Linked DNA regions of Homo sapiens: region 2 is linked to region 1. The links are contacts of gene promoters, found by promoter capture Hi-C in human tissues and cell types (Jung and others, 2019). All regions are on one chromosome and are shown on one strand. Each heading gives the region's core, a stretch centred on a gene start or on the middle of the fragment in contact. The rest is flanking DNA. Distances are from core to core; before and after follow the strand shown.

The links. The method cuts DNA at HindIII sites, captures the fragments that hold promoters and counts their contacts. A contact is called where the count stands out against the background at its distance.
Region 2: a contact is called between a fragment that was not itself captured here and the fragment with the promoter of ATG16L2 in region 1, in 2 of the 25 tissues and cell types used here (IMR-90 fibroblasts and dorsolateral prefrontal cortex).

Annotation. Positions count from the first base shown.
Region 1 is chr11:72,811,884-72,816,880 of GRCh38, forward strand. It overlaps ATG16L2 (autophagy related 16 like 2), which reads left to right and starts at 2,528. Exons shown (of 18, transcript NM_033388.2): 1 at 2,528-2,680; 2 at 4,845-4,944. The coding sequence starts at 2,563. It overlaps LOC107984421 (a long non-coding RNA gene), which reads right to left and starts at 2,184. Exons shown (of 3, transcript XR_007062771.1): 1 at 750-2,184. RefSeq lists enhancers at 791-850, 1,011-1,140, 3,151-3,300 and silencers at 1,681-1,770, 2,171-2,620. The HindIII fragment of the contact is 4,089 bases long and covers 21-4,109 here.
Region 2 is chr11:73,123,859-73,128,855 of GRCh38, forward strand. All of the region lies in intron 2 of FCHSD2 (FCH and double SH3 domains 2), which reads right to left. Among named protein-coding and RNA genes, the nearest start is that of FCHSD2, 16 kb to the right of the region's middle. The HindIII fragment of the contact is 4,053 bases long and covers 153-4,205 here.

The sequences.
Region 1 (4,997 bases), core at 1,278-3,777:
AGGTCAGGAGCTGGAGATCAGCCTGGCCAACATGGTGAAACCCTGTCTCTACTAAAAGTACAAAAATTAGCTGGGTGTGGTGACGCATGCCTGTAATCCCACCTATTCGGAAGGCGGATGCATGAGAATCGCTTGAACCCGGGAGGAGGCGGTTGCAATGAACCGAGATTGTGCCACTGCACTCCAGCCTGGGTAACAGAGACTCTGTCTCAAAAAACAAAACAAAACAAAACAACAACAAAACCAGCGATAGTGGCATGTGCCTGTAGTCTCAGCTACTCGGGAGACTGAGGTGGAAGAATCATTTAATCCCAGGAGGATGAGGCTGCAGTGAGCCATGATTGGGCCACTGCACTCCAGCCTGGGCAACAGAGAGAGACCCTGTCTCAAAAACAAAACAGAACAAAAAAAGTGAAGTACTTTAGGTCCCCAGATTATGGTATAACATTTTTTTATATTTATTGGTCAAATCATATATCTCTTACATAAATAATTTGAGATACATTAAACAGCAAGTTAAATGTAAAAAGCAGAAATTTGTCTCCATATATTATCTAAAATTTTATTTCAAGTGATCTTTATAATACAATCTTTCATATTCTAAAAATAGAACATGAATATTTTTAGTCAAAATCAATCACTTCTTTATCATATACTACTCAAAAATGACTATTTATTTAACATTTCCTAGGTGTATTTTGTGAGTCAAAAAAGGATTAGGAAACCCCTGCCCCAATATGGCTCCTTACCTGAGAGAAACGGCATCTCTGCACCTCACAGCCAGGCCAAGCCCTGTTAATATACTCTCCCATGCACACAGCCAGAGTTCCTTATTTATATAGTGTCTCCAAGCACCCAAGAGTCCGCCAGTTCTAAAGGGAATTCATCACTGTCATCAGCTGGCCCTGGGTCTCCATGGGTACTGTGCCTGTCTCCTGGGCATGGCTTTTGCTGAACGTTACCACCCATCTTCAACACAAATACTCCTTCAAGAGACAGGTCAGGCCTGGTTTGGGGCTAGAGGTACAGAGACATCTAGGACCCAGGTCCTGCCCTAAGGGGCACCGCACAGATTACAGGATGGTGTGATAACTGGTGACGGTTATAACTCGAACTCAACTGGGGCTGGTGTCTGAGAAGCTTGAACTCAGTGTAGGGGCAGGAAAGTTCTCCTGGAGGAGGTGATGCATGATTAGGAGCCAGGCCCCCTAGAGGCGACGATGTTCCAAACATCAGGCTCGGCCTGTGCAAAGGCCATGGGCGTCTAAGACAATGACATGTGGGGGACTGAGCCCAGCTCACTGGAAGCAGAGCAGGCTACACTGACCTGGGGGCGTCTAGGCCTTCACTGCTTTCTACGTCCTCTGACCCATCCCCATCAGAATCTCAACAGACTCGTCACCTCCAGGGCCTGCACTGCTCTCCCATCGTTGCCCAACTTCTCTCGTTCCCTAGGGATGTTCAAGTCTGCCAACACTCAGAGGGCAGGGCCTGCTGGCATGCCCCAGGGTGAGGCTGTGCCCAGCGAGTCCCTCCTTTCGTGTCTCACAGTAGCCTGAGCCTGCAGAGCTGGCTCTCTAGCATCTAGCTAGAGACGGTTTGACCACAGTTCCCTGCGACCCATGATTCACTTTCGAGGGTACCCACAAGAGATGTGTCTGCTCCTCCAGACGCCGCCCAATGGGGTGAAGCGTCTGGCCCTGAGTCAGGATGCTGGGGTGCTGGCCGTCTCAGCTACCCACTCCTTTGCAACCCCAGGCAAGCAAGCTCGTTCTCTCCTCCCGGCCAGGGGCTTTCTAGATGAAATCAGCTGCACCCCTTTACTCTCAGGGACCTAAAATTTCGGCGACCATGTGGAGCCGTAAACCCTTCTGCCTCCTGTCCTCCCAGCCCCGCACCCACCTGGCGTTTTCGTGTCACGGAACCTCTGCACGTGCTCTTCTCGAGGCCTAGAGTCCCTCTCTCCCTCTGGCCAACTCCTATTTCATCCCTCACAGACCCAACTCGAACGCCATCATCCCCGGAAAGCGGGGATTCCTCCCTTCAGTCTCTGCTTCCTTATCTTGCTGTCCTGCTGCGCCGCGCCCTCAGTGTACGCGCAGAGCCCGGGGCTGAGGGCCTCTGGGTCCCTGGCTGGGTGCGCGGCCAGGAGCGCGACGGCCTGGGAAGCACCAGCGGCTCTCGAACTCGGCCCGGGCGCGGCGGGGTTAAGACACCCGGGCCTTGAGGGCCCCGCCTCCGGAGCGCTCCACCCGCGTGGGGGAAGCCTCCCCGGAGGCTCCGACCTCGCTCCTGCTTATGACCCTCGCAGCCACAGGAGCCCCCACTTAGGTGAACATTTCGGACGGGGCCCCGGCGGTTCAGACCCGGAGGCGGCTCCTCCCGGAGGCAGATCCTCCCGGCGTCGGCCTTCGGTCCTCCCCGCCAAAGCCCTCTTGGGACAAGCCGGGGATTCCCCGCCGCCGCCCGCCCCCTGGCGTCACGGAGTCCCCGCGAGGCCCCGCCCCGGCCTGGCGCCGTCCTGGGCGGGAGGAACGCGCCGCTAGGCGGGAGAGCGCGGCCATGGCGGGGCCGGGCGTCCCCGGTGCCCCCGCAGCGCGCTGGAAACGCCACATCGTGCGGCAGCTGCGGCTTCGGGACCGTACGCAAAAGGCGCTTTTCCTGGAGCTGGTGCCGGCCTGTGAGTGCGCCCCGGTGCTGAGAGGATGGCGGCTGAGGGGACGCGGCTACGGGCGCGGGGAGAGGGTTTGGCTGGCTCCTCCGCCTGTGACCCGAGTGCGCTGTGCCTTATGCCTTGAGCCTGTGCGTTACGCCCATCCCGACTGCCAGGACTCCGCCCCTTGCCATCCAGGCTCTGGTTAGAACCTGGACGAGCCCCTCCTGGTCCCCCTGCCCTCGTCGCCCCTCAGGACGGGCTCTGCCTCCCACAAGCTGGGCTTCCGAGACGCAAGTGCGTCCTCGGGTGTTGGTTTTGCAGGGTCTCTTTTGCCTCCCCACCCGGGCAGTCCCCGGGGTAGGGGCTTGATCAGTGCACTTAGTCTCGGTAGCGCAGTGAAAGAACGCGGGACTTGTCCAGAGCAGCCACTTATTGGCCCATCCGGAGAGGGGCGACACTCGGAACCTCTAAGGAGGAGGCTGTGCATCTCAGGCTCTGCCGCTGACAGGCGACGCTGGCACAGGCTTATGGAACACCTCCCTGTCAGCCTACCCAGCCTGAGGGGGCATCAGGGGGCCCCGGGCTGCTGGTGGATGCTGGCTGAGCCCAGCGAAGTCGGACTCTCAGAATTGTTTCTGGGCAGCTGGTCAGGATAGGGTGTGGCATTTCAAGAGGGGATGAACAGGTGTGCCTGTGTGTCGCACCTCTGGCCGCCTGCGATTGTATGTCTGTGGTTGGAAGTCTAACCACAATCCCTGCGGCTCTCTCACTGGGGCTAATCTTGGCCAAACCCCCACAATCAAATCTGCTCTTAGCCAGGAAAATTTCTCTGCAAGCTTCCAGGCTGCTGGTCCTCTACCTTCAGGGTTGCGAGGCCAGCCCCCACCTCCAGCAGCCACACTTCTCCACTGCTCAGACAGACAGTGGAACCGTCCAGTTTGAGGGAGGGGGTCACCGCCCCCCCAACCCCTGCCCCCCGCCCCGACCCAGGGAGCTGTGAGTCTGAGGGACTAGAGAGATCTGGAGGGCTGAAATCAGACTGAAGGGCCAGTCTTGAAACCTTGGGCAGATCACATCGCTAAGCCTCAGTCTTCTTACTTGTTAATTGGGTATAGAGACCTTCTTTAGGTTTGCTGGGTGCTGCAGTACCCTGGGGGCTGAGGTGGGGTTTTCATGAGAACTAGGCCAGGCCCAGGGCCTCAGTCAAGGTGACAGGGCACTGAGTGTGGGAAGGAAGTTGATGAGGAGGGAGCTAGGCCCGGACTTACCACCCCACCCTCCCCTGGAACTGGTGAGAAAAGAGGAAGTGACTGTTGATGGGGGAGGGTGTTCCAGGGTCAAACCACCAACCTCCAGAATGTCGGCTGGATAATTGCTCAAGGACTTTCTATTCTGGCCTGGGGGTACCTTACACCAGGGCTGGGGAAGTTGGGATTATTTATTTATTTATTTATTTGAGATGGAGTCTTTGCTCTGTTGCCCAGGCTGGAGTGCAGTGGTGTGATCTCCGCTCACTGCAAGCTCTGCCTCCCAAGTTCACGCCTGTCTCCCGTCTCAGCCTCCCGAGTAGCTGGGACTACAGGCGCCTGCCACCACGCCTGGCTAATTTTTTGTATTTTTTAGTAGAGATGGGGGTTTCACCGTGTTAGCCAGGATGGTCTCGATCTCCTGACCTCGTGATCCGCCCGCCTCGGCCTCCCAGAGCGCTGGGAATTCAGGTGTGAGCCACCGCGCCCGGCTGGGGATTATTTTTAAGTGCAGAAAGCTAGAGCCCTTGGAGGGGAAGTGACTTGCCAAAGGCCATTGACAGGTAGAGCTCGGTTTATTTCATCACTTTCTGGGGCTAAGCCTTGCTCTGAGGCAGGGATGAATCAATCCCAGGCCCCTTCCTTCCCTCAGGACCCTCAGCGGGCAGTACCCCGCAGTGGTCATCCTTCTGTCCCTGGGAGAGCAGGTCCTCTTCCACGTGGGCCTGGGGACCGGTGCTATGAGGACACTGCTAGGGCTGAAGGTCCTGTAGAACTGCACAGATGCCCCTCAGGCACAGGGCAGAGGCCAGCCTGCCAGAAGCTTCCCCATCCCTAGCATCTCTGGGCTCCTTCAGCCCTTTTAGCCGGAGATAAATTGCATGCCAGGGGGCTGCTGGGTATCTGTCTCTGCCCCAGGCTCACTCTCTTGCACTCTCCAGATAACCATCTCTTAGAGAAGGCTGAGCTGCTGGACAAGTTCTCAAAGAAGCTGCAGCCGGAGCCAAACAGTGTCACTCCCACCACCCACCAGGGCCCCTGGTAAGTGTATGTGGGTCCGTGGTCACAAAGGGCTGCCTGTGCTGGGGCCCTGC
Region 2 (4,997 bases), core at 929-3,428, 310 kb after region 1:
ACTATAAATCAAAACAAGGTGGTCAAACTGAGTTACCTGAAAAGAGATAATCTTATCATAAAATTAAAGTTTAAATTTGTCATGAACAGGCCTTAATATTGTATAAGGTGTAAGAAAGGGATCCAGTTTCAGCTTTCTGCATATGGCAACCCAAATGTCCATCAATGATAGACTGGATTAAGAAAATGTGGCACATACACACCATGGAATACTATGCAGCCATAAAAAAGGATGCGTTCACGTCCTTTGTAGGGACATGGATGAAGCTGGAAACCATCACTCTGAGCAAACTATTGCAAGGACAGAAAACCAAACACCGCATGTTCTCACTCATGGATGGGAATTGAACAATGAGAACACCTGGACACAGGATGGGGAACATCACACACCAGGGCCTATTGTGGGATGGGGGGACGGGGAAGGGATAACATTAGGAGACATACCTAATGTAAATGACGAGTTAATGGGTGCAGCACACTAATATGGCACATGTATACATATATAACAAACCTGCACATTGTGCACATGTACCCTAGAACTTAAAGTATAATAATAATAATTTTAAAAAAAGAAGAGAGAGAATGGGGCAGAAAAAAAATATTTGAAGAAATAATGGGCCAGGCGCAGTGGCTCACACCTGTAATCCCAGCACTTTGGGAGGCCAAGGTAGGTGGATCACCAGAGGTCAGGAGTTCGAGACCAGCCTGGCCAACATGGTGAAACCCCGCCTCTACTGAAAATACAAAAATTAGCTGGGCATGATGGCGTGTGCCTCTAATCCCAGCTACTCAGGAGGCTGAGGCAGGAGAATCACTTGAACCAAGGGGGCGGAGGTTGCAGTGAGCTGAGATTACGCCACTGCACTCCAGCCTGGGCAACAGAGTGAGACTCTGTCTCAAAAAAAAAAAAAGGAAACAATGGCCAGAAGTTTCCCAGGTTTCATGAAAAGCATCAACCATTGAATGATGAACCCCAAACAAGATAATTACAGACACTATACTAGTCACATTACACTCAAACTGTAGGAAACCAAAGATAAAGAGAAAAAAGCTATTAGAGCAAGGGAAAGCACATTCCATAGATGTGAACAAGTCTATAAGTAAGAGCTAACTTCTCATCAGAAATAATGAAAGCCAGAAGACACTGGAGTGACCAACTCAGAATTCTATATCCAGCAAAAATATCTTCCCAAAGTGAGGGTGAAATAAAGACATTTTCAGACATATGAAAGCTAAGAGAAGTGTCAAAAGCTGCAGAATTGCACCAGAAATGCTGAAGGAAGTTCCTTAAGCTGAAAGAAAATGATAACAGATGGAAACTCAAACCTGTATGTTGGTTTCAGGAAGGAAAGAAGAGTCAGGATTAGTAAATATAAGACTTTTTTCCTTCTCTTAATCTTTTTAAAAGATACCTGTTTAAAGAAAACTAACATTATATTACGAGGTTTATAAGCAGCACAAAGTCTGGGATGGAATAACTGTAATTAGACCATTGTAAGGTCGTATGTGGAATGGTACAATATTAACTCTAAGTAGACAGTGATAAATTAAGAATGCATGGTGTAGATCGAGTGTGGTGGCTCATGCCTATAATCCCAGCACTTTGGGAGGCCAAAGAAGGGGGACTGCTTGAGCTCCACAGTTCAATGATGCCTGGGAGACATAGTAAGACCCTGTCTCTACTAAGAATTTAAAAAATTAGCCAGGCATAGTGGCACACATCTGTAGTCTGAGCTACTCAGGAGGCTGAGGCAAGAGGACTGTTTGAGCTCAAGGGGTTAAGGCTGCAGTGAGCCATGACCGCACCACTATAACCTAGCCCAGACAACAGAGACCCTGTCTCAAGACAAAAAAAAACACAATGTCATATCTTAGAATGACCACTTTAAAAACAGAGGAATAGCTAACAAATGCAAAAAGAAAAAGAAAAAAGAAAGAAAGAAAATGGAATACTAACAATTTCAATTGATTCAATGTAACTAAGAAAAACTATTATATAAAACACTTCTTTTAGTAAAACAGAGCAAACCATTCTTCCATGGAGAGAGCTGGCTAATGCAAAACTACATTTCACAACAGAAACAATGTTTTAATTGATGGCTATGATATAAAACCTTTGGATAAAGGCAGCTAAAATGAAATTTGACATTAGGCAAGACTCTATCTAATATGTTTGCTTGTTTCAAGACAAAAGAATTCCACGGCCAGGTGCGGTGGCTCACACCTGTAATCCCAGCACTTTGGGAGGCCGAGGTGGGCGGATCACAAGGTCAGAAGTTCGAGACCAGGCTGGCCAACATGGTGAAATCCCATCTCTACTAAAAATACAAAAATTAGCCAGGCATAGTCATGGGTACCAGTAATCCCAGCTACTTGGGAGGCTGAGGCAGGAGAATCGCTTGAACCTGGGAGGCAGAGGTTGCAGTGAGCTGAGATCACGCCACTGCACTCCAGCCTGGGCAACAGGGCAAGATTCCATCTTAAAAAAAAAAAAAAAAAAAAAAAAAAAAAAATTCCACAATACAGAAAGAAAGGAATACAGTAGTACATAAAGCTTGTTTTCCCAACTTTGTGCTACAACCAACTGGAAACCAATCACTTTATGAAGAAAAGTTTGTAAATCAAGTATTCTTAATACTTGTACATATTAGAAATAAATTTTAAAGTCTATTAATAATGAAAATAGCTTCACTAAAAACTAATTAAAAGCCAAAAATGGCATTTTAGCATCAACTAATACGAACTTTTATAATATCTGTTAAATATCTGTTATGCTTAACAGACATGCAATAAAATGTTTACCAATATTACTGAATCATTAAATTTTAGTTTTGAGCATAATATTCACATAGTTTAAAATTCAAAATACACAAAAAAGAACATACAATAAAAAGCTTAGACTGGGTGCAGTGGCTCACGTCTGTAATCCCAGCACTTTGGGAGGCCAAGGCAGGTGGATCACTTGAGGTCAGAAGTCCAAGACCAGCCTGACCAACATGGCAAAACCCTATCTTTATGAAAAATAAAAAAATTTGCCGAGCATCGTGTTGCACACCTGTAATCCTAGCTACTCAGGAGGCCAAGGCACAAGAATTGCTGGAACACGGGAGGCAGAGGTTGCAGTGAGCCGAGATTGCACCACTGTGCTCCAGCCTGGGATGGAATAAGACTCTGTCTCAAAAGCAAACAACAAAAAGAGTCTCTGTCCCTTGCTCCCATCCTCCAATCACCAGTAAGAGGAAAAACAATTATCACTAAAATACAATCAGGAGACATATATAATATATACTCCAACTTGTTTCTGTGGAACCACAGACATGGTAACACTTTTCATAACACCAGAAATAACATTTTCTTATTAAATTGGGATTATTTCCAAGCTCACAAAACAGAAAACATCTGGATGACAAAGGATTCCCACATGAATGCCAAAAAGATCAAATGGAATGTTAAAACAAAGCACGATCAAGGAATATTGAAAGGACCTAACAAAATGAAATTAACAAAAATACCAGCTAAGGTTCCATAAATTACTCCCGATCAACACTGACAGAACATCTGCAGCAGTGGGACAAAGGACAGGGTTACAAGTTTCTGTGCCTAGATCCCTAATTAGTTACTGAAAAGCCAAGAACACGAGCCAGACTTACAAAACTAACCCCTGCTTATGCATCAGATCACCCCTGAAGACTGATACCAACAACATAGAATGGCATCTGTGGGGCTCAAATGAACATCTGGAGAATTTACAAAGAAAACCATCAACTTACAGGCCTCCTCAGATAAACAGCTTCAGACTTGATACTCTCAAGAGTAAATTGCCAATCATCAATTATTAAGGGGCAAATTATTCAGCTAAGGGTGATTAAAACTCTTTATATGGCCTTCCCTCCTTTAAATTTAGGCACTTCACTAATGCCTTCACCTGAGAAGTAAAAAGAAGTTCACAGCTGGGTGCAGTGGCTCAAGCTGTAATCCCAACACTTTGGGTTGGGGGGCGGGGGTGGGAATCACCTGAGGTCAAGGTCAAGAGTTTGAGACCAGCCTGGCCAACATAGTGAAGCACCGTCTCTACTAAAAATACAAAAAATTAGCCAGGCGTTGTGAGATCACACCACTGTACTCCAGCCTGGGCAACAGAATAAGACCATCTCAAAAAAAAAAAAAAAAAAGGTTCACTGAGAACACAATTGCCTGCGGGCCCTTTGACCACCATTTCTCCAAATTATCAGAAGACTGAAGTGGTAAGATTGGGAGGAGAATCCTAAGAGGCCAAAATACAAAAACCTACTCCTAACCTGACATACTTAATTCAAAAGGAATTGGGAAGAGGGAATACAAATAATTTCTATGGAGTCTCTAATTACCAGTCAGCTTGGGACAACTGGAGTTCCAGTGATAGCCCTCATAATCTAACTCCAATGCATTTTTTAATACTTTTATGGGAACCTCTAGGAGTAAACTGGAAATGGGTCCCTGCAGCAAATCAGGCAAAACAATAATGTGGCAAAAGCTACATTACTGCCACCACTACCTTTTTTGTTTGTTGGCAAGGACCTACCTCCAAGAAGATCACATTTCCAGCCTCCTCTGCAGCTAGGCATGTTCAAGCATATGACGCAAACACAGATAATGAAATATAAGGGAAAGTCTGTTGAGTTAATTTCTGGTAAAAAATTTCTTCCCTGGTGGAACAAAAGAAAAAAGGAAGGAAACAGAGATGGGGGAAGGAGGGAGAAAGGTAGGAAAAATTTGCATAAGGAGAAATTGTCCTGCTCTCCTCTTCTTCCACCTGAAGTTGTTATATGAAAATATAGTACTTGGAGTTGCAGAAACTATCCAGCAATCACGAGGAGAATCATTACCAACATACAGAAAGATGGAAGGTACCTAGGACTACTAACCGTGGTGAAAGATTCTGTAGCATCACTGGAGCAGTTTATCTTTGAGATTAATTTCACGTTTCAACCCACAGGTTACTCTTTAAAGAATAAGTCA